7 separate regions of the Homo sapiens genome follow, and all the other regions are linked to region 7. The links are contacts of gene promoters, found by promoter capture Hi-C in blood cells and fetal thymus (Javierre and others, 2016). All regions are on one chromosome and are shown on one strand. The core of a region is centred on a gene start or on the middle of the fragment in contact, and the rest is flanking DNA. Distances in the headings are between cores, read along the strand shown.

Region 1 (3,475 bases), core at 313-2,812, 230 kb before region 7:
TCCTCAGATAAGTTTTTTTCTTTTTCATCCCCACCCCCACTCTCCCCGTCCCAGTTGAGCCTCCATCATCTCTCACCTGGACTGGTGCAGTCTTCTCCAAGGTAAAGATGGCTAATGGTCTCCCGCATTCATCCCCCTTTTTCCTTAGGAACAGAACTCCCGATTATTTTGAAGTGGGAGGGCACATGGTAGCTCAGAATACAGACCTGCATTTGCCAGCCTCCCCTGGAGCTCTGGCCAATAGGAAATAAACAGAAGTGTCCTATACGACTTCTAGGAAATACACTTAAAAGGACAGAATGGGTTCTTCTTTGACCTTTCCTTACAGCAGCTTGCTGGAATGCAGGCGTGCTGGCTGGGACTGAACCACCCTCTGGGACTGTGAGGCAGCAATGTTGGATGGCGGGGAAGCAGGCTGGAAGAAAATTTAAGGTCTCCATTACCAGCCTCAATCGGCCTATCTCTATACTTGGTTTACATTAGAGAGAGAAGCAACTGTGTTACTGAAGTCATTGTTATTTGGGAATTTTGGCCCCATGCAGCTGATCCTAATTAGCTACATCTCTGATATAGTTTCCTGCCCCTGCCCTTACCCAACCCCCTCATTTTTTATTTCCAACATAGCAACCACAGTGGTTCTTTAGAAACTTGTCAGTCCCCCCCAGCTCAAACCCTCCTTTGGCTTCCCGCTCACTCTGACTATAAGCCAAAATCGAATCAAAGCCAAGTCCCTGCATGGCATGCACCTTCCATCTCCCCACCTCATCTTCTCCCCCTTGTACCCTTGTTCACACCAATTCAGCTCCAGTGCCCTGTTTGCTGTTCTCAGAGCAAGCTGTGTTTGCGCCTTTCCCAGGGCTGAGGGTTAGAGGTTAGCTGTTCTTGCAGTGGACGCTGACAGGGCTGGCTTTCTCTTTTCATCCTAGTTTCTGCTCAAATGTCACCTCATCTGAGAGACCTTCCCTGACCCTCCTACCTAAAACAGCTCACACCTTCCCCATCCCTCTCTAGCTGAGTGCCTTTTTTCTCTACACGTGATAAGGACAGGAGACAGGGAAATACTGAGAAGTGGGCGGTTCCCCAGCAAAGATCCCACCCTCAAGCCTGGAAACCCGTGGCCCTAAATGGGAACAGCCCTTCCTGTTTTCAAGCCCAAAAGTTGCCTTTTGGCCTGCTGTGCCCCCCTATCCTGTACTTGTACAAACCCCAGACCCTAGGCTTCAGAAGCAGACGAGGGAACGAGCAGAAGAACAGAAGAACAGCAGAATGGCATGGCAGAGAGAAGAAAGGGACCATCTGAACGCCAAGAGAAATTCAGCTGGGGGAGGTCAGAGAGGAGATAGACTGCAGGACAGCCAAGCTCCAGGGGAAGATCATCTTCCCACTCCATCCCCTTTCCAGCTCCCCATCCATCCCGCTGAGAGCCACCTCCACCACTCAATAAAACCCTGCATTCACCATCCTCAAGTCTGTGTGTGACCTGATTCTTCCTGGATGCCGGACAAGGACCTAGGTACCATGAGGGCACTGAGCTGGTTAACACTTAAGCTATCTGCAGGCAGCACAGCTAAAAGAATGCATGGTAACACATGCCTACTTGGGCTTTGGGAGTTGCAGGCACCCACCCCTAGAAGCTACCATGGGGCTGGAGCCCCAAGGTGCTTGCCCTGGCTCCTGCACCTGCTTGTCTGCATGCTCCCCTTCCTGTAAGGGGTTTGCACAGGTGAGGTGGCCAAACAGATGAGCCACACCCCTATTGCGTGTCATGTGAGGAGGTTCAGGGAACTCTTCCATTTCACGTGGACTTCCCACTGAAGTTGTATATTCATTTCCTTGTGTGCCGTCCCCTTCCTCTCCACTAGAGGGAAAGTTCTTTGAGGCTGGGCTAGCCTCCGTCTTGTGTGCAGCTTTATCCGCATTACTCAGAGCAATGCCTGATGTGCAACAGGTGCTCAGCTAGATGAATGCCGGAACAAATAAGCAGCGTGAGAGGGGCTCCTGGCTTTTATGGGGAGGAAGACACAACAACCGTGGAGAACCAGGATGCTTGGACCAGATCACTGTGGAGTCTGGGATCTTGTTTCCAGCTGGCCAATTTTTATTGAAAAAGGGTCTTGCAGGCCGGGCATGGTGGCTCAGGCCTGTAATCCCAGCACTTTGGGAGGCTGAGGCGGGTGGATTATTTGAGGTCAGGAGTTCAAGACCAGCCTGGCCAACATGGTGAAACTCGTTCTACTAAAAATACAAAAATTAGCCAAGTGGTAGTGGCATGCAACTCTAATCCCAGCTACTCAGGAGGCTTAGGCAGGAGAATTGCTTCAGCCTGGGAGTGGGGAGGTTGTGGTGAGCAGAGATGATGCCACTGCACTCCAGTCTGGGTGATAGAGTGAGACCCTGTTTCAAAAAAAAAAAAAAATAGATAAAAATGTTCTTGCAGATCTGAGTCAAAATAATTCAGAGTTCTTTTCTTGAATAAATATTTAGTTCTTCTGGGTCATTGCTCTAAATCAGTGGTTCTCAAGGCGGGACATTTTGCTCCCAGAGGACATTTGACAGTGTCTGGAGACAGCTGGTCACACTGGGACTGGGGGTGCTGCTGGCATTGAGTGAGTAGATGTCAGGGGCATTACTTAGAAAATACTTCAATGCACAGGACAATACCACACAATAAAGAATTACCCAGCCCCGAATGTTAATCATGCTGAGATTGAGAAAGTCTGGTTTAAACATCTCATGAAATAACAGGATTCAAATCATATCATATGCTGCTGGTATAAATACAGAATTCTGTGAGATTCTTCAAGTTCAGGAGAAGTGGGAGGAAGACTATATTTTGCTTTCAGGATCATCAGTCCTTAGTTATTTACAAGTGTTTCCATAAATAGATCAATAACCCAACAAACATTTACTGAGTATCCCAAGTGTGTGGCGTACTGGTTTATTGCATTATTATTTCTTTCTCTCTCCACCTCTGCTCCCCTCCACACCCCACCTCTGGGCCTTGTCACTGGACTTTTGCAATCTTACTGTACCATGGAACCTCTTCTAAGAATGAATAAAGGAAATTCACATCAGAAGGTAGACAACATGGAACTCAGGTGGAGGGGTGGGCGTTGGGCCACGTGGCTGTCTTTAGGCCAAGGAAATTTCCCAGACGGGCTTAGCAGGGAGCCTTTGGCGCCACCATCGTGGTCTGTTAGGGGATGAGGGGTGTCTGGGAAACCACAACACAGCATTCACCATGGCCTTTCCCATTCCATGATGGCTTATTTAACTGAAGCTCTATTCTTCCATTTTATAGGGAAAACCCAAACATGAATTGTTCCTAGTTATTCCCAGATATCAACTTCTCTTCTTTCTGATAGATGAATAACCAAAAGACATATTGTTTGAAAATTGTTGCTGTTTCCATTCTAATTAACAAGATCTTACTTCACAAGAAAATCAAGATTTAAAAAAACACACCTGGCAGGGC
Region 2 (3,162 bases), core at 50-2,549, 240 kb after region 7:
CACACTGCCTGTTAGAATCAATCATGTCCCTGGCTCTGTGACTCCATCCTGCCCCATTACATGAGATGGCACGTGTGAGGCACATGTTAGGCGCCTGAGAAAGTTCAGCTCTTGTTGCTGTGGTGATGAGGATGTGACAGGCCGGATGTCCAGGTATTCTTGCATAATCACTTTCAAGATGTCACTTTGCCAATGAGCTCGCTGCCATCTCATGCTTTTCCCATTTGAGTAAGCCTATTTGTGTAGACAGTGCACATAGGCAGGCTGCCACCCATGCTCTGTGGCTTGTTACGTGTTTAATTTACATATTTAGGGCCCCATATTCAGTCACATTTTGACAGATGTTTGTGATTCTTGTAAAACCAACTCCATCCAGCCACCTTGCTCCCAGCCCTACTATCCAGGACTTTGGCTGTAGCAAAATTCTAGAGCTGTGCCTTGTGTTTGTATTACGTTTCACTTCTCTAAAATTTTCTCTTGTGATCTCATGCAGCATTTCTTTCTTGTCAATAACAGTCTCAGAGTCTAAGGTAGAGACAGAGCCAGGCTGTCTAGCTCCCCTATCTGGGCTCTTTCTAATACCACATACCCTTCCCACCCAGGAGCCCCTGTCTGTGCTGTTTTGCTGAGGGATGCCCAGGTTTATGAAACCATTACCCCAGTTGACTTATTAAGGGCACTCCTTTTAAATGATATGATCACTCAAGTTTTCTGACATTCTCAGTTAGGGCCCATTTGGGAGTCCCCGTAGAATCCACTCCAATCTCCTGGGTGGTATTTCTGGGCCTGACTTAATCTTCCAGGCCCATGGCTGTGTGTCAGGAGGAGTCCCTTCTCCCTGCCCATCAGCTGTGCCCTCTTGTGTTGATACTTCTCCTTTCCAGAGCCATCAGGGGTGGAGTGGGGAGAACAGAGAAGGAGGAGAGGAGTGGCAGGAGGGATAGGAGGAAAGTAAGATGAGAGCCAGAAGCAGAAGGGCCCCCATATGGGAGACAGCAGTTGGGGTGGGTATTCTGGGCAAGGGAAGCCCCTTCTCATCATCTACGCATCTCACTGCTTAGAAGCGCAGTGGCTGCTATTTGGCAGTGAGCTGCTTGTAGAGTTATTTGCAAAGGTTCAGTGTTTTTGTTATTTAAGGAGCTGCAAATAAACCTCCAAGGTCCTTAGCTCCACCATGAAACATGCAGGTGAGCATTCCCTCGACTTCACGTGTGAATGATGGCACGGATGGAAAAAAATGGAACAGAAGGTACTATTTTCCATTTCTGAGTAATTCAAGATGAGAAATGGCTCTTTGTCCAAAATCCCTTGCATGGGTCTACTGGTAATTCAGCAAACAGAGAATGTGCTGAAGATTACTTAGAAAGACCACCTGCCATCATTTCATGAAGGTTTGGAAATGTAGCTGATCATGTTGCCATAAAAACATCCTCGGAATAATGGGAGCCCTTTGAAGGCTTTTTTCTGCCAGATCCGGGGCATTTTCTATTAAAGACAAAACAGAACACTGACCCTTCCGGGTATGGTTTCTGACTTTTATAAATTGCTTGTTTGATTTTTAAAGGTTATTCCTACAAGCAGACTTGGTACTTTAGTTGAGCCTTCTCAAAAGAAATTAATCTCCCAATTTATAGAGTGGTTTGTGTTTGCAGTTTAGTCTTAGAGTAGAATGAGACCAAGTGTATGCATAGCTTCTCTAAAGTCAACAGAGCGGAGCCCCAGAGACAAATTCACAGTTGCAGGACAAATGAGAAGAGGAAAAACAGCTCCTTGCTTCCTTTCTGAGGATGAAGGAAGTCTTTGGCTTTAGACAAAATCCTGCTGCTTCTGACTGCAGCCCCCAGGCAAGGACTCAAGTCATAAATAAATGCCAACTTTATCAACACCAAAAACCACTGTGGGAGACCTTAAGATTCCACCAATAAAGCTCAAATCCTGTCAAGTACAATCCTGAGCTACTTCAATATTGATCTTGATATTTATAAGGGAATGCTTATGATTTGCTAGCACTTTGTACTCTGTAGAGTCTGTGGTGTTCAAGGAAAGGGTTTTTATTTCCTAGGGAAGTCAGGTTTTAGGTCCATGTTTGTTTGTTTGTTTTAGAAATTAACAATGTCTTATTAGCATCCAGTGTTAAGATAATAAAGGTTTCTATGCTAAAACATCAGAAATGGTGTTAGCTGATAATTAGGTGTTAGGACTCAGCATGTGAGAAAAGATGACTTAGTCCTCTGCAAGTTGTACTGTCACTACTGTGGGCATTTCTTCAACATGAAATCCTCTCTGTGCTGCCTTTAAGTGGAGAGGATTTCTTGTTTAGTTGTATTAATAAACATAGCAAACAATGAGTCCCAGGCTAGTATAAACATCATTTTCAAAGTATTGACTGGCGTCTTTGTTATTTTTGCTTTCAAGTAGACTGCATAAAGACATTATTGGCTTGCTTCTGCTGATTCTATAAAATAGATATTTGCAAAATCTGAGGCTTGAAACAGGCAGATAGCAGCCCAGAAACTTGATTTTCTTAGTTTTCTTTCTACTACTGCATTGTCTCACGATTCTAAAAACTGGTAGCAGAGCCCAGTGTGGCCATCTCTTCTGTGGTATTCACTGGGAGTCACAGAATTGTGGGCAATTCCTTTGTCATTGTTTTCTTTGTTGTAGGTTTCAGGAGAAACTTTATTAAATTTATAGGTTTTCTTTGAAGTCTTGGATCCTAGTAAAAATAAAAAGAAAAATGTACTTATTGTAAGGAAAAAGAGCACTCATCTCAGTGAGAAAGAAACTGATGGTGTAATAGAGCATATGATTTCAGGATATAAACCATAAAGTCATATTTTTATTCTTCAAAATGGCAAACTTTTACATCTTTACCACAGCAGGCCTGATGAGCTCAGCCTGCTTTCTCCTAGCTCTTTCTTCCTTACACCTTGTTTTTTTTTTCCTTTTTAATACTCACTAAAGCTTTTCGTTATCTATTATAGCATTTTTCTTCTAATATCAATTTGTACTTTTATTTATAAGCAGCAAAAACAATTTTTCCTTAGCATTTCTTTATTTTCTTCCTATGTTGTTGAAAACTTGACATTACAGTGGGTCAGTTCCTTCAATAGCTGTTGAAAAGCCTTAACAGTAAAGTGTAATGGATAGTACCTGCCTGGC
Region 3 (3,021 bases), core at 72-2,571, 210 kb after region 7:
CAGAACCCGGTCAGATTTTATCTCCTTAGGTGAAGGACAGAGTTTTAGACTTGAACTAGCTCTATATTTTACTCAGTCTAAGTGGAGTGGGTATGCATTTTCTGAATCAGATCATCATCTGGACAGGGCTTTCTCTGCAAAAGTCCTCAGGCTTTAGTATGTCTACATCAGCTAAACGTGTATTCTCCAGCCTTCTGGTAGTCACATGTATCTGGTAATCACAAGAGAAAAGGATGTCCTAATTGCCCCCAAATGATTTTTGAAGGACACTGATACCCAAGTCTGTGGACTGATCAGATATTCCACCACCCTCAGTTTTAATCCTAACTATACGAGTTCTGTTCTCAAGACGTGTGTTTGCCATTGTCCTATCCCAGTGACACATTCTAGTGATGAGGTCCAGTCTCCAGGCTAATTGGAAAGAGGCCTAACTCTGGGTAGGACTCCTCTTCTGAATGTGATGGATCAGTTAGGATCAGGCTCCCTCCCTCCTGGAGCAAAGCCATTACTTGTCAAAGGAGTGTATTAGAGAATGGGGATAATGAGGGATGAAGGAAGGGGGACTTTTGAACATAACATTCCAGTCCCTCTACTTTTCATTCCCAGGTCTGATTTTAGGGTCAATGGACTGGGTTACTTCATATAAAATTCCATCCAGCTGCAAACCAAACATAACTCAATGTTTTAATTTGGTCTTGATGAAATTGCCCCTTGTCTCTGGGTTCTGACCACAGGTGATAGCTCCCCCTACCTGAGTGAAATGTCCACCTCTGTCCCCATGCACCATTCTTCCAGCAGTCCTAGCAAGTTGGCCAATGCCCAGTAGCTTCATTCCAGGCTCCCTTTGGAGATGATTTTGTTTCATGAGACTTTTTAGTATTTGGATGAAGCAGTCATTCCTTGGGGAAGGGCAAGTGTTTTACCTTGGGCCTTCTGATCCTGTATTCCTAATAACTGCATCTTCCACGTGCACACTCCTAATATGGGTGAAGGAAACCACACTCCAAATCTACATATCGAAGTCTTCCTTCTTGTAGGCAGACTTGTCTTGCAGCTAGGGGCATCTGAACACAGCTTCCTTTGCCACCAACCCTGGCCTCATGCCCAGCTACAAAAGGGGTTACTAGAGCAGCTGTGATTTATGCCGATTATTACTTCTTTTATGCATTCCCCTTGAAATATTATATGAAAGTATTGGTGAAAGCTAATTGTTAAGTTTTGAGAAGGGAGGATAATCTTATTGACATCCCCTGCTTAATAGGCAGCCGATGGAAATTTGTGTGTCTTTTGTGTTAGGAACTTTCATCTGGAAAAAGGATGGGATGGAGGCTGCCCAGCGAAAAGGGTGGAGTAGATGATTTCTATGTAGACCTCCAGCTCCACTTACCACTCACTACTTGACTTGTGCCTTTTCTAACATGCTCGTGACGCCAAAGGCTGACCTATGGAGACTACATGGGGACTACTCAGCAGGCTCCTTTATCCTCGGACTTCTAGGTGGTTTAGATTAATGGTGAACACAAGAAGGAGGGCTGAGGACAAGAGCAGAGTGGAGCAGAGGATTTCACTCCCCAGGTCCCCCCTTAAAGGTTGCCTCTATCTAAAGCCAGCACTCCCATGGTGGGTGCCTCTTGTATAAGCAGGTGCTCCAGCTCTGTATCTGCTCCTTGCTGCTCCCCAACCTCAGGCCCAAGTGGGTAACATCTCCCCAGCTGAACCTATCTTTATGAGTTTTCCGCACCCTGAATCATGCCATTGTAAATGGCCCATTATTAAATTTTCCTTAACCCTTGGGGATGTCATCTGTTTTCTGCTAGGACCCTAACTGATACACAGTCCTTTCCAATGTGGCAGGTTGGTGATGTTTTCCTTACTAGAAATAGACACTTATTCTGGACATGGATTTTTCTTCTTTGATTATTAAGATTTTTCAAGCATCCAGCATCTGTGAATTTATACAATGCCTTCTTTACTGCCATTGGACACCACTTCATGTTGCTTCTGATCAGGGAATCTCTTTTACAAGAATACAGGTCGAGGCTGGGCGCAGTGGCTCATGCCTGTAATCCTAACACTTTGGGAGGCCAAGGCAGGTGGATCACTGGAGGTCAGGGGCTTGAGACCAACCTGGCCAACGTGGCGAAACCTCGTCTCAACTAAAAATACAAAAATTAGCCAGGTGTGGTGATGTGTGCCCATAATCCCAGCTATTCGGGAGGCTGGGACAAAAGAATCACTTGAACTCAGGAGGTGGAGGCTGCAGTGAGCTGAGATCATGCCACTGCACTCCAGCCTGCACCCTGCATGACAGAGCAAGACTCCGTTTAAAAAAAAAAAAAAAGAAAGAAAGAAAAGAAAAGAAAAGAAAAGAAAAGAAAGGCAAAGAAAAGAAAACAGGTTGATTGGGCATCATTATTGCTATGTTGCCATGTACCCCATCACCCTAAAAAGTTGTCCTGAATGAATACTGAAATTGCCTGTTTAAAACTCCATTAAAGATACAGCCATGTGACAAAAACCTTGAGGGCTGGTGGGTTATCCTACTGAAGGACCTGATGCTCTAGACCAGTGACCAATATATAGTACTGGTTCTCCCATAGCTGAAATTCACATTTAGGAGCCAAGAGATGACAGCAGTAATGGATCCTCTCTGTTACTGCTAATGATCTACTTATAGAATTCTTGCTTCAGTCCAGAAAATTCAGCCCTGCTGTTTTAGGGGTCTGAAGAGAGAGGGCCGATTCAACCAGAAAACACAATGGCCCCACTGAATTGGAACCATTTATGTAGCCACTGAACCAAAGAGCCCAGATGTCGATCCTGGTTATCAATAGGAATAAGGTTGCTGCTTCTCTGTAAGGAGGACTATGTCTGGAACCCAGTGGATTTTCTAGGAATCTCCTAGTATCCCTATATTTAGCAATAAAAGCAAACAGATTTATGCAATCAAATTAGCCAGAAACAGTAATCACTCAAACTCTTTAGGAATAAAAGTTTGGGTCACTACAAAGGCCACTGAAG
Region 4 (3,485 bases), core at 105-2,604, 220 kb before region 7:
AGAGAGGGATGGAGGGAATCTCAAGGCTGAAATCTGAAAGTAAATTCTAGGGGAATCACAGGTAAGGCTCCAGATGAGAACAGCAGCAAAGGAGATGCCCAGAATCACACCTGTGGTCTTAAAGAAGGGAGATGGGATGCTGCCGGGAATGTGGGATGCTGTCGGGGAGGCAGGATGCTCTTGAGAATGTGGGATGCTGTTGGGGAGGCAGGATGCTGGTGGGGAGGCAGGCAAGGCGGGATGCCATTGGGAAGGCGGGATGCCGTCGGGGAGGCGGGATGCCGTCGGGGAGGGTGGATGCCGTCGGGGAGGCGGGATGCTGTCAGGGAGGCGGGATGCCATTGGGGAGGTGGGATGCTGTCGGGGAGGTGGGATGCTGTTGGGGAAGCGAGATGATTTTGCAGAGGCAGGATGCTGTTGGGGAGGCGGGATGCTTTTCTCACTCTGGCTGTCCCTGTACACCAGGGCACTGTCTCTGCCCAGTGCTCCTGCAGACTGCCTTCCCCATGAGGCACAGTCAGTGCGAAGAACAGGGGGAGCAGGCCAGCAGGGAGAGGGGACAGTGTGGCCCTTCTTTCCCTGCCTCAGACCCTGGGGGACAGCACCTGCACCCACATGGCCCCACCTCTCTAGGCTGCAGTAACGCCAAGCAGCCCTGCCCTGCAGCGTAAGGCTTTGACAGCTCCCAGGCATTGCCCATCCCGGGTGCTCGTCATCCTGGTTGTCTCTTTCACACCTGGAAAAGTGCCCCTCCATTAAAGGTTCCCATCTGAACCCTCTGAGTAGAAATCTGTTTTCTGCCAGCATCACAATGATACAGTAAGAAATAACTTTAGGCCAGGCACGGTGGCTCACGCCTGTAATCCCAGCACTTTGGGAGGCTGAAGCAGGCAGATCACTTGAAGATAGGAGTTCGAGACCAACCTGGCCAATATAGTGAAACCCCGTCTCTACTAAAAATACAAAAATTAGCCGGGTGTGGTGGCACGTGCCTGTAATCCCAGGCACTCGGGAGGCTGAGTCACAAGAATTGCTTGAACCCAGAAGGCAGAGGTTGCAGTGAGCTGAGACTGCACCACTGCAATCCAGCCTGGGTGACAGAGCAAGACTCCATCTGAAAAAAAGAAGAAAGAAAGAAAGAAAGAGAGAGAGAGAGAGAGAAAGCAAGCAAGCAAGAAAGAAAGAAAGAAAAAGAAAGAGAGAGAGAGAGAAAGAAGGAAGGAAGGGAGAGAGAAAGAGAGAGGGAAAGAAAGAAAGAGTGAGAAAGAAAGAAAGAAAACTTTAAATCACATCAAAGCAGAACAGGCTTCCTGGTGAGTTTCTTATCATTAGAGAAGCTCAAGGTAAATTTGGATGATGCATTGGTTCAAGAGGCAGATGCCAAGATGAAATGTGACTTGTGGAAGGTCTGCTGGGGAACCATGCTGTGTAGCCTGACCCTGGGACAAGGAGAGGGTGAAGGATGAGGGATGGGTAGGAAATGCTGAGAAATCCTCAGCCAGCCCCGCGGGGGGACCCTGGTGCACAGGCTGCTCACTGGTGGGGTGCTGCCTTGGGCAGATGGCTTGGCTGTAGTCCCCCACCATGCTCAGTCATATTGGGTGAGTGGGGCCTCAGTGTGAACGCCTCAGCAGAGCCAAAGGGGCTGAAGGCCTCCCACTGCTCTTCTGGAGAGAGAGAATGAGAGAGAGACAGACAGACAGAGAGAGAGAGAGAGAGAGAGAGAGAGAGAGAAAGAGAAAGAGAGAGTCTGAGCTCAAGTTAGGTTACGTAGAGGCTGCTCCCATCACTGCCTTCCTGGGTCAAACTTGTCCAGATCAGCTTTCCCATCACCAGTCATTTCTGCGCCAGGTGCACTAGAATGTGAGGCCCCTACCCACTCCCTGGAGAAGGACAACAGGTTCCTGATTGGTCACTGAATTCTTTGTCATTTGAAAACAAGTCAGATGTGCAGGCAGCCTGGCACATGCAGTGTATAATTTTGAGAATGCAGCCACAAGTCAGCACCTAGAAAGAAGTTTGGAAATGTTGATGCTCAGCTTCTGGGGCTTGTGTTGCAGAAGCCGGCAGAGAGGGCTCCTTGCCGGGGACCCTGGGGTCTTAGCAGCGACTCCTGCTCGGACTTGCGGAAGCACCCTGAGAAGCTATCGTCAGTCCCTTCTCCTTCAACCTCTCCATCATCGCCACACTGTACACACTACTTTCCTTCAACCTCTCCATCATCGCCACACTGTACACACTACTTTCCTTCAACCTCTCCATCATCGCCACCCTGTACACACTACTTTCCTTTATAAGGACTACTGGGAAGAGAGGTAGGAGGAAGTATCAGAGGTGCCGCAGGAATTTTGTCTCTCTGCTGTTGGCTGCCGCCCCTGTATTTGTTTAGCTCTCTGCAGTGTGCTTTCCCTACAACCCTGTCAGCAGGGAGAATGGGGGCTTTGATGTCTACTGGAAGACTGAGCCCCAGAGCCACATCCTCCCTAGCACATCACAGAGGCCCTGGCCCAGCAAGTCCTCACCCCAGCCCATTGGCTCCAAGACAAACAGGCCCTGGTGAGGCAGCACTGCCTGGATCTGTGATGCCCTGGTTCAGGACAAGCAGCTGGAGTAGGCGGGGGAATGGTGGTAGGGAGTGGGGGCGGGGGGCGGCAGGGAGGGGGAGGAGGTAAGCCCACCTCCCTACTCTCCACCGAGAACGCAGCATGAAGAGCACCTGTGCTCATGGATGCAACACGAGACTTCAGACTCAGGAAGTGCCCTCACGTTTGGTAGTGTTTTGTATGGAAATCCCTGATTCATGCTCATACTATTGAGAGTTTGGTCTCGGTGGCACATTATTTTTTGGAAATGGGGTCTCTCTCTGTCACTCATGCTGGAGTGCAGAGGTGCGATCATGGCTCACTGTAGTCTTGACTTCCTGGGCTCAAGTGATCCTCCCGCCTTGGCCTCCAAAGTAGCTGGGACCACAGGTGTGGGCCACCATGTCTAGCTCTGTGGCCCATTGTTAGTTAATGATGTTTCCATGTGGCTGCATTTTAGTTCATGGAATATATTCTACTGCGGTTCATGTCACTGGACCTTTCTCTTAAAATAGCTGCCCCTGTTTCTCTGTCCCCCTGGGGGACAGCCTCATATAGGTCCCAAATGCACAGACTCTCCTCATGGTAGGAGTAGATACCTTGGATCTCCTCTGACCTTGCTCTCCCTCCACGTCTCCTGCCAATAGGACACTTCCCAGCACAGATGCACACGTCGATGTAATGTCCATTTGTTAGTAGCTGCTTGCGGCTGATAAAGAGGGCTGAAAACCCTTTGCTGCTCTGTCCACTGAGAGGTGGTACCTCAGTCCCCTCCCCTTGAGTCTGGGCTGGCCATAGCGACCCACTTGACCAGCAGACTGCAGCAGAGAGATGTTGCAGGACTGCCAAGGTGGGCCAAGAAGCTTCACAGTCTCCACCCTGCTCCCTCTCCAGATGTTCCCT
Region 5 (3,449 bases), core at 782-3,281, 260 kb before region 7:
ATGCTGCAATGTAGATGAACCTTGAAAACATGGTGAAAGAAGCCATACACAGAAGTCACCTGTTGTAGGATTCCATTTCTGTGGAATATCCAGAATAGGTGAATCTGCAGAGAGAATGCCGAATGATGTTTGCCAGGGGCTGTGGGCAGGGAGGAACGGGGAGAAGCAGCTTCATGGGTACCAGGCTTTTGAGTCATGAAAATGTTCTGGAACTGATAGAGGTTGGACGATATTGTGAAACTGCTAAAAGCCGTTGAATTGTTTGCATTAAAATAGCCCATTTTATATAAACTTCACCTCAAGAAATTATTAAACAGAAAAAAAAAATTCTCTTTCCTCGAGGCTCAGTTGACATGCCAGCTGCCCAAAGGCATGTCTTCTGGTCCAAGTGACTGGAGGTGACTTTCGTGACCTCATGGCCACTGGGTTCCTCTGCTTCTAGATGCTTTGTCTCCTAGCTGCCATATGTCCCTTCCTCCTGACTCTGAGAGCTGAGGGCTGGGGCCAGTGTCTGTGTCCCTTCCTCCTGATTCAGGACTGGGGGCTGGGGCCAGCCATTCCTCTCATGCTCTGAGGCTCACACTTACTTCAGCCTTGCTGAGTCGCTTATGCCCCTGCAGCTCCTACTGTGGGTCTGGAGTTTGGGCTCAGCTGTCTTTCTCTGGGGCCATTTGAACAATCCTGGTGGATAGAGCAGAAAGAGCATGCGAACTTGGAGTCAGATAGACCTGCGTGACCTCCTGTGAATGATCTAACCCTCTGAGCCTGTAAAATCAGGGTACCTGCTCCCTGATGTTGGCATGTGGATACCTGAAGAATGCCTGAGTAGTGGGTGCAGCTCTTGTGGCACAATTACCCCAACTCCACTCCCATCTTCTCTTCCTCTCTTAACGGGTCACTGACTTTTCTGGTCCTGAAACACACATGCTCCTCAAAGGGACTTGCCTGGGGCACAACTCTCACTCTGCAGTATCCCTACTTGTGAGCTCCCCATATCCTAGACTAGGGTCCCAGACCCGAGGCCCTCCATAATAAGACATGAGCTGGGTTCCCACCATTCTCCCCCGTGCCATGTTTCGGCCACGCGGAATCCATGCTGCTTGCCGCAGTCCTTAGGCTGCCCTCTCTGCCTTGTGTACCTTGCCCCCATTTCTGCACACATTTCCGCTATCCTTCAGGGACTGGCTCAGATGCCACCTTCTCTTTACAGCCATCCCACTTTGTGGAAAGGTCTGTGGTGTTCCCCCCTCTGAACATTCCTGTGCCCCTTTTGTGGCATTCATTTCTCGCTCTCTCCCCAGTGTTCGGCCAGGCCGTGTGGGCCCAGGGCGAGGCCCTGGTTTGCCCAGCATCAGCAGAGACGTTTTAGTGATGCATGGATCTGAGGGCTGGTCTGTGTGCGGAGAGAGGCTGCTCCCAAGTGGGAGATGCTGAGGTGCTTGGCAAAGATGGGACTTGAGAGAGGCCTTGATTGATGAGTGGGCTTTGAATAAGGAATCAAAGAGTCTTGAGAGCTCAGAAGTGAGCGGCAAGCACTTTTTGTCTCCCCCTGCAGCCTGGGAAAGCTGAGTGGAGCAGACAGTGAGATACCCTCTTCACTCCTTTCCAGACCAGGGTTTTCTGGCCACAGTCTTGGACCTTACTCATGGCAGGGCAGGAATGCCCAGAGTTAACACCCAAGAGCATCCTTCAGTAAGGACAGATGGGAATTGGAGGGTTCCAACCCTTCCAGTCCCTCAGGCAGGACATCTCTGAGGCACACCCCGCATCATCCCGGAGCTCCCCAGGGACTGAGCCAGGCACCTGCAGTGCTGCCCCTGTACTGGCTTCCCCCTGCCCTACCTCACATCCCCATACCCCAACAGGTGCCCCTGGGATCACCTCTCAAATAAGTGGCTTGCAGTGCAATTGTTGTCTCAGGGGCTGCTGCTGGGGACTCTGTCTAAGCTAGGGAGCAAAGAAAGGACTTTCTCTCACTGTTGAAACACCTGAAGAATGTCTAGATGGGTTTTCCTGGTCCCTTGAAGGGTCAATGCCTTGGCTAACAGCTCTCTTTTGGTGCCAGACAGTAACAAATCTAATGCAAACTACAGTTCTCAAAGTGAGGGAGCGTCAGAATCCTTGCTAACACTAGGGTGCCAGAGCCTTAGCTTCAAAGTTTCAGACATAGCAGGGCCAAGGGAGGCCAGAATTTGCATTTCTAACCAATTTCTAGTCATACTGGAAAGCCGGGACCACACTTTGAAAACAACTGCTCTTGACTAGAGAATAAAAGTAGCCTGGGTTGAAAAGTGCTCTGCAGCTTTTTTAATGAAGTAAATTATTATTTTACACTCTTCTGCAATTAGTTCAGCCTTGACTGTTGAGCTTAGTTTTCCTTTTTTTTTTTTTTTTTTTGAGACGGAGTCTCGCTCTGTTGCCAGGTTGCAGTGCAGTGGCGTGATCTCAGCTCACTGCAACCTCCACCTCCTGGGTTCAAGCAATTCTTGTGCCTGAGCCTCCCGAGTAGCTGAGACTACAGGCATGTGCCACCTTGCCCAGCTAATTTTTCTATTTTTAGTGGAGATGGGGTTTCGCCGTGTTGGCCAGGCTGATCTCAAACTCCTGACCTCAGGTGATCTGCCCGCTTCGGCCTCCCAAAATGTTGGGATTACAGGCATGAGCCACTGCGCCCAGCCAGTTTTCCCGCTTTTGAAGCTGTCTGATCTGTCTTGCTCTTCAAATCTGAATTGCCATTCACAGAAGCAGCCACACGAGGGTGGTCTAGCCTTTGACAAGAGCCGCTCTGCTTGCGTTGTAGACAGGATCTGAGTGACACCTTTTCTGATCAAGAAACCAAAGTGTTCCTTCCCTATATCAAACATAGGGCATTTAAAAAGTCCAAGATAATCTCCTTTGTCTTGACAGGTGGCTGCTCAGAGAGGCTTTTTTGTTTTTCTCTAGGATATTTTAGAAACGGTTTGGGAAAGCAGAGGTCTCTGCCTCTCCAAAGCAGCACAGCTTTTAGTGTGGTTCTATTTCAAATTCTGAGGTACTGTCTCAAAAATGCTTCCTGGTGAGCATTTTGGTCTAATGGCTGACTTTGGCACTTTGTCCCGGGATGGTTCCGAGGCGATGAATGCACAGTGTACAATGGGATGACCGCGATGGCATGTGGGGGATCAGCTCAGGGTGCCGGCGCAAGGCCCCAGGCAGCCCGTTCTTGCCAGCCAGTGCCTATGACCAGCGAGGGGTGGGGGCATCGAGAAGATCCTGCCCCTCCCCACGACCCTACCCCTTCTCCCGTGACATCAGAGTGTCATCCCAGGTGGAATATTCCCAGTATCCCTTCCTGCTCCCAGCTGTGGGCCCCTGGAGGGCACTCCGGGTGATGAGGATTCTCATCCCTGCTGAGTTGGAAAGGGGCACCCTGACAGGAGAGCTGGCCATGCCCCAAGCCTCCCCAGCCT
Region 6 (3,184 bases), core at 255-2,754, 230 kb after region 7:
ATAAACATTCTGCCTCCAGTGTGTGTGCTGCTGAATCTGCTCCCCACATTACTGTAAGAAAAATTGTCCCCAAATTTACATCTGTGCATTAAATGACTCAGTGGTTACCCATTGCTGCTATATAACTTAATACTGACCTCGAGGGGTTGTTGTTGGAATAAAAGAGGCCTGTGTGAGTCGGTGTAGCTCATAGTCGGCACGCACTAGTGTGACATCACCCTCTTTGCTCCAGCTTCATGACCGGCCTTGCTGTGTTCTGACACCACAACTTTCAGTTGCTGATAATTCAGACTTCATCCGGACTCCTGATACTCCTGCGCTCTTTCTCTGGGTTAAGGACCAGGATTGCAGAGGGCATCCTCAATGGAAAGAGAATGCAGGTGGCTATGAACCCTGCAAGGTGCATAAAATCAAATTTATGGGCATAGAAAACAAAAGGAAGGCTGGAGATGGTGGCCTGTTCTCTCCGTGTGGAAACCCTTTTGTGAGTCACTCTCATTACGCTTCAGTTCCTCACATGACAACATTCCCCAGCAGCAAAGCAAATGGGTTCTTCAGCAAGATGGTGCCTTGTTTTGATTACTGGGGATTACTTAAGCCATGAAGAATAGCTTCCATGCTAGTGTCAGTAATGAAAAAGCCGTGGAGATGATGTCATTATTACTTATTTTTGAGCCCCAGTAGAATATTTGTTATTTGTTAGAACACCAGACCACGTAGTTTCTTACCACAGGGACTTCCAGTCTCATACCGTGTATAATGCACTCACCGTGTACAGTACAATAAACCAGATGATATGTCGTAAAAAGGCGGTCATCCTTACTTGGAGTTTCCCACTGCTGATTCTATTAACATTCAGTACAGACCCTTCATTCCAAAGATAGGCATCATACTGTCAGAGCCTCTTAGCGTGTTTACCAAGCTTGCCACCAGCTCATCAGCCCCCTTAACTTCCAGGAGTGGATCTGAGGAGCTCTGTGGTTTGCTCATGGTTACCTCTCCACCCTGGCCATGGTTCATTGGGCTGTATGTGGACCCTCATGCAGCTGCGCCTGTCGGGGTCCTGTTCTGAGAGTTCAGGACGGGACTCAGATGCCCAATCTGGGCAAGTCTCTTAAATGGAAGGAGCAGGGTCACATCTTACACCCACCAAAGCTCTCTAAAATCAGAGAGAATAAATAAGATGTCCAGAGGGAGGCAGCCCTGGCTGTGTGCTTGGTTTTGATCCTTTATAAGACATGGTCTCAAGTCTGGAGATACAAATTTCCCCTTTCGACTTAAGCTAGCTCACAGTGGTTGTTCCTTGAAAACAGAGTCCTTATCCAGTGTCTCCCACCAGCTCCAAAGCTGGATGCAAGAACATGAGTTTGCTGGGTATGCACATGAGCCAATGGTGCCGCCAGACTCTTTGAGCCCTCGGTGGCCTACCGTGGGGCCCTCAGGACCATTGGCTCAGTCTTGCCTCCTACAAATAAATGTTAAAAGCAGGCCAGGAAAGTAGTAATCTATACATGGCCCAGCAGTTTGGAAGTAGTTTTGCCCAAATGTGTGGTAGCCTACAAAAATCTAAATGCTCAGGGGCCAAGCCACTGACACATTTTAGATTTCTGCCATACTCAGAGAAATGTCAGATGCTGAGGGCTTTTCGGTTGCCTGCATACATTGGACATTTATGGATTTCTCTGTCCCATGTCTTGCAGCTCTTACTACCCAAGCCCTGTATTTTTACCCCTTCTACTTGTTACCTAGTTTGATTATACTGCTCATTGAGTTAGAGAGAGAGAGAGATAGGGAGGAAGGGAAAGAAAGACTAGAACCCAAGATCCCCTACTCCCACTTCCCAATTAATTCATTATTTGCTCATTCAACACCTATTTTATTGTGTTTCTGCTATGAGTTTGCCACTGTACTGGGCCTCTTGGACATAGTGGAGAACAACATTGGTGAGGGTCTTGTTTCCATGGAGCTTCTACTCTAGTGGAGACAAATATTAAGCCAATCATTACTACACAGAGGGAGAAGGCAATTGGTCTAAACTGGAGTAGAATCCATTGGATAGAGAACTCCCTAAGGAAGTGAAGCTTAGGCCTGAGCTCTTAAACATGTACAGAATTAAGTGGGGCCAATATATTTGTGCAGGATGTGATGGAGTGGGCATTCCAGGCAGAAGAAACAGCATGTGCAAGGGCCCTGTGGTGGGAGATGGCACGGTATGCTCCAGAGTCTGTGAGAAGGCCAGTGTGGCTAACACAGAGATGTAGGGAGCAGAACGAGGGAGGCCAGGCTGGCAACAAATCCTGGCTGTACCCAGGCCATTGTCCATGCCAAGGATTCTGGCTTTTGGTCTAACAGTGGGAAAATGGAAAGTCACTGAACTGGTTTAAGCTGGGGGATGAAGAGAAAATGTGTGTGCCTGAAATGTGCCAAGGTCCAAGTAAGAAATAATTGCAGCTTTGACTAGGAAATAACTGTGGATGTAATGGGAAGGGGAGAGAATTCAGAGTTATTTGGGGGCAAAAGTGATTGGATTTAGAAATGGATGGTATATGGGGGATGAAAGAGAGAGAAGTGTCAAGGATGGTTCTCAGGTTCAGACTTGCAGGACTGATGCAAGCCCCTCCTGAGGCCACATGCTTCTCCCCACCACTCCCTCCACAGGCACAACAATGACATGCAAAATAAGAAAGACTGTCTGAAAGTGGATTAGTACACAGAGGACACCAGCCAGTGCACCAAATACCCAGCAGCCCCCAGGGAGCCCCAGCATGGGTGCAGGGCATGGAAAGGCTCTCCCCACCAACCCCATGTCCACCACTGTCTTTGCCTTGTGACCCTCTTTGGCCAAGGAGTTGAAAAGTGAGGGCAGCAGTTGTAAGGGGGTTTGAGCTGTCATGCAGGAGGAGAGTACCCCTAGCTCCCATAGCCACTGAGAGTGGATATGGCAACTTAGGAACCATTGTTAACATGATTCTCCGTGTTTCAATCCTGACCTAGGCCAAAGAGAACCACAGGCTCTGAGAAAGTCCAGAGTTGAACACATACTCTCAGCAGGTTGGATTCTGAGCCTTAAAATGTTCTTTTATTTTTCTCAAAATTCAGGATGTGGCTTTGAAAATAAACAGATAGGTATCCTATAAGAATTAACACAGCAAGAGCCTCAGAGATGCTTCACCCTGCAATAGCA
Region 7 (3,340 bases), core at 403-2,902:
ATGCCGCCATGCCCACCTCTCAGCCACAGGGACCCCACGGAGCCCGTGTCTGTTTGCTCTAAACCCACCAGTGAGAAGTCCCCTTGGGAAACCTGCTTGGGAAACGTCCTGGACCCCAATAAAGGCTTAGGACCCAGGTCTCTCTCTCTCCCTTCACCCCCCTCCAGGTGAGTGTTTGTGACCCAGACAGCTCCCCACTTTTTGCTGGCCCCGTGGGGTGCACTGCCCTCTCCCTGGGATCTGTAAGTGACACGGTGCTTGTGTTGCTTCCTGTGTCTTCTTGTGCTGCCTCCTGCATCTCCCCTGACCCACACCCCAACCCAACTCTCCTCCCATCAGGGATCTCTTAGGAAGTGGCTGTCTTGATAGGAATAAACTGGACATGGGTCAGACGAGAGCCACAAGGGTGTCTGTCCATAGAAACAAGTTTTATGTGAGAGAGACCCCTGGTCACTGGGCAGGGCTAGAATTTATAGTCAGTCTCTCAAAGTGAGAGATACAGCCTGCTACCAATGACAGGGGACTTGGAGAGCAGTGGAGCCTCTCCCTCAGCTGAGATGGTGCTGAGGTGTGGTCCCCTCAGGCCCCCAGAGTTTCCTGGCACTGGCTCCAGCAGCCCAGGGTCACCTTCTCAGCAAGTCATCATGGGTTGGCTTCCTCCTTGTCTGTTTCACTTCCCCTCCCACATAAACTAGTCTCCCCAAATCCTGTCTCAGGGTCCCCTCCTGGGGGATCCCAACCAATGAGCAAAGGTCTGTGGCTGCAGGAAAAGCACACTGTGAGTCCCTGGCTTTTGCCGAGTCGCGGTGTCGCGGGAGGGCCTGCCCGGGCTTCGATTCCCGCTCCCTGCCCAGATTTCCGGCCCTTGCTAGGAATCCTGAGCCGGGGGAAGTGAGCCTGCAAGCCCTGCGCCACGAGGCCGGACACATTTTCATTTTCTTTCTGATGCTTTTTGTGACCCTGACACCTCACAATGCAATATTTCCACTATGAAACCCCCAGAACTGCCAAATTTCACCCAATTTGGATTAACATTATCGAGGAGCTTGGCATTATGTTGAAAACCCAGACATTCCCACGACCCGTATCCTATTTAAAAAATGCCTGTCTATTTAAGGTTCACGATGGGAGGATAAAAGAAAAAAGGCTCCCAAAGTCAACAGAGAACATGAGCTAGGCAAAAGGAAAGTCCAGTTTGCTTCTAAAAAAGGCTGAAAATTATAACCATCCATGGCCTTGTGTCTTAAGTCTCAGAATTTTTTTTTTCTCTTTTGGTGGTTTGCAAACCAAAGTGGAATTTTATTATGGGTTACTAAGGGAGCTTCCTCGAGTTCCTAGCCCCCAAAGCCCCTGCTCACTCCATGGCATGCCTCCGAGGCTCCTCATGCCATGAGAAAGAGAATGGAGCCAAAATCAAGCCGGCAGTATCTCGGGGCTGTAACGTCTTCCCCCCGTCGCTGTTTCCACAGTGCTGAGCCAGGGACCCGGCAGAGCTGCCTGACTCCTTTTATGAACAACAGCACCGTGATGAAGGCAGCAGGAGTCAGAGAACTATTCATTGCAGGAAGCCCCAACATCCGGTGAGAAATAAGAAGTACAACAGTACAGGATGCGCCTTGGGTCAGGGGGACGTGGAAAGCCCTCAGCCTTTGTGTCCTTCTCTGCGCCGGAGTGGCTGCAGCTCACCCCTCAGCTCCCCTTGGGGCCCAGCTGGGAGCCGAGATAGAAGCTCCTGTCGCCGCTGGGCTTCTCGCCTCCCGCAGAGGGCCACACAGAGACCGGGATGGCCACCTCCATGGGCCTGCTGCTGCTGCTGCTGCTGCTCCTGACCCAGCCCGGGGCGGGGACGGGAGCTGACACGGAGGCGGTGGTCTGCGTGGGGACCGCCTGCTACACGGCCCACTCGGGCAAGCTGAGCGCTGCCGAGGCCCAGAACCACTGCAACCAGAACGGGGGCAACCTGGCCACTGTGAAGAGCAAGGAGGAGGCCCAGCACGTCCAGCGAGTACTGGCCCAGCTCCTGAGGCGGGAGGCAGCCCTGACGGCGAGGATGAGCAAGTTCTGGATTGGGCTCCAGCGAGAGAAGGGCAAGTGCCTGGACCCTAGTCTGCCGCTGAAGGGCTTCAGCTGGGTGGGCGGGGGGGAGGACACGCCTTACTCTAACTGGCACAAGGAGCTCCGGAACTCGTGCATCTCCAAGCGCTGTGTGTCTCTGCTGCTGGACCTGTCCCAGCCGCTCCTTCCCAGCCGCCTCCCCAAGTGGTCTGAGGGCCCCTGTGGGAGCCCAGGCTCCCCCGGAAGTAACATTGAGGGCTTCGTGTGCAAGTTCAGCTTCAAAGGCATGTGCCGGCCTCTGGCCCTGGGGGGCCCAGGTCAGGTGACCTACACCACCCCCTTCCAGACCACCAGTTCCTCCTTGGAGGCTGTGCCCTTTGCCTCTGCGGCCAATGTAGCCTGTGGGGAAGGTGACAAGGACGAGACTCAGAGTCATTATTTCCTGTGCAAGGAGAAGGCCCCCGATGTGTTCGACTGGGGCAGCTCGGGCCCCCTCTGTGTCAGCCCCAAGTATGGCTGCAACTTCAACAATGGGGGCTGCCACCAGGACTGCTTTGAAGGGGGGGATGGCTCCTTCCTCTGCGGCTGCCGACCAGGATTCCGGCTGCTGGATGACCTGGTGACCTGTGCCTCTCGAAACCCTTGCAGCTCCAGCCCATGTCGTGGGGGGGCCACGTGCGTCCTGGGACCCCATGGGAAAAACTACACGTGCCGCTGCCCCCAAGGGTACCAGCTGGACTCGAGTCAGCTGGACTGTGTGGACGTGGATGAATGCCAGGACTCCCCCTGTGCCCAGGAGTGTGTCAACACCCCTGGGGGCTTCCGCTGCGAATGCTGGGTTGGCTATGAGCCGGGCGGTCCTGGAGAGGGGGCCTGTCAGGATGTGGATGAGTGTGCTCTGGGTCGCTCGCCTTGCGCCCAGGGCTGCACCAACACAGATGGCTCATTTCACTGCTCCTGTGAGGAGGGCTACGTCCTGGCCGGGGAGGACGGGACTCAGTGCCAGGACGTGGATGAGTGTGTGGGCCCGGGGGGCCCCCTCTGCGACAGCTTGTGCTTCAACACACAAGGGTCCTTCCACTGTGGCTGCCTGCCAGGCTGGGTGCTGGCCCCAAATGGGGTCTCTTGCACCATGGGGCCTGTGTCTCTGGGACCACCATCTGGGCCCCCCGATGAGGAGGACAAAGGAGAGAAAGAAGGGAGCACCGTGCCCCGTGCTGCAACAGCCAGTCCCACAAGGGGCCCCGAGGGCACCCCCAAGGCTACACCCACCACAAGTAGACCT

What was found. Contacts are between HindIII fragments. The CHiCAGO score rates a contact against its expected background, and 5 or more counts as called.
Region 1: a fragment that was not itself captured here is called in contact with the fragment with the promoter of CD93 in region 7 in 4 of 17 cell types (monocytes, neutrophils, endothelial precursors and 1 more); the score reaches 9.3 in monocytes.
Region 2: a fragment that was not itself captured here is called in contact with the fragment with the promoter of CD93 in region 7 in 1 of 17 cell types (neutrophils); the score reaches 6.6 in neutrophils.
Region 3: a contact is called between a fragment that was not itself captured here and the fragment with the promoter of CD93 in region 7, in 1 of 17 cell types (neutrophils). The highest score is 5.6, in neutrophils.
Region 4: a contact is called between a fragment that was not itself captured here and the fragment with the promoter of CD93 in region 7, in 2 of 17 cell types (neutrophils and monocytes). The highest score is 6.5, in neutrophils.
Region 5: a contact is called between a fragment that was not itself captured here and the fragment with the promoter of CD93 in region 7, in 6 of 17 cell types (neutrophils, endothelial precursors, monocytes and 3 more). The highest score is 9.8, in neutrophils.
Region 6: a fragment that was not itself captured here is called in contact with the fragment with the promoter of CD93 in region 7 in 1 of 17 cell types (neutrophils); the score reaches 8.2 in neutrophils.

What each region holds. Positions count from the first base shown.
Region 1 is chr20:23,318,945-23,322,419 of GRCh38, reverse strand. The region is part of intron 1 of NXT1-AS1 (NXT1 antisense RNA 1); the gene reads left to right. It overlaps LOC105372571 (a long non-coding RNA gene), which reads left to right. Exons shown (of 3, transcript XR_937379.3): 2 at 55-101; 3 at 1,211-1,467. Among named protein-coding and RNA genes, the nearest start is that of NXT1, 30 kb to the left of the region's middle. The HindIII fragment of the contact is 8,680 bases long and covers 1-3,475 here.
Region 2 is chr20:22,839,894-22,843,055 of GRCh38, reverse strand. No RefSeq gene overlaps it. Among named protein-coding and RNA genes, the nearest start is that of LINC01747, 160 kb to the right of the region's middle. The HindIII fragment of the contact is 3,335 bases long and covers 1-2,966 here.
Region 3 is chr20:22,876,444-22,879,464 of GRCh38, reverse strand. No RefSeq gene overlaps it. Among named protein-coding and RNA genes, the nearest start is that of SSTR4, 160 kb to the left of the region's middle. The HindIII fragment of the contact is 5,211 bases long and covers 1-3,021 here.
Region 4 is chr20:23,301,597-23,305,081 of GRCh38, reverse strand. No RefSeq gene overlaps it. Among named protein-coding and RNA genes, the nearest start is that of NXT1, 47 kb to the left of the region's middle. The HindIII fragment of the contact is 4,186 bases long and covers 1-3,447 here.
Region 5 is chr20:23,340,007-23,343,455 of GRCh38, reverse strand. The region is part of intron 1 of NXT1-AS1 (NXT1 antisense RNA 1); the gene reads left to right. Among named protein-coding and RNA genes, the nearest start is that of NXT1, 9.1 kb to the left of the region's middle. RefSeq lists a silencer at 2,783-2,832. The HindIII fragment of the contact is 6,381 bases long and covers 1-3,449 here.
Region 6 is chr20:22,858,781-22,861,964 of GRCh38, reverse strand. No RefSeq gene overlaps it. Among named protein-coding and RNA genes, the nearest start is that of SSTR4, 170 kb to the left of the region's middle. The HindIII fragment of the contact is 1,159 bases long and covers 925-2,083 here.
Region 7 is chr20:23,084,636-23,087,975 of GRCh38, reverse strand. CD93 (CD93 molecule) reads left to right here and starts at 1,652. Exons shown (of 2, transcript NM_012072.4): 1 at 1,652-3,340. The coding sequence starts at 1,784. RefSeq lists an enhancer at 1,489-1,668. The HindIII fragment of the contact is 6,182 bases long and covers 1-3,340 here.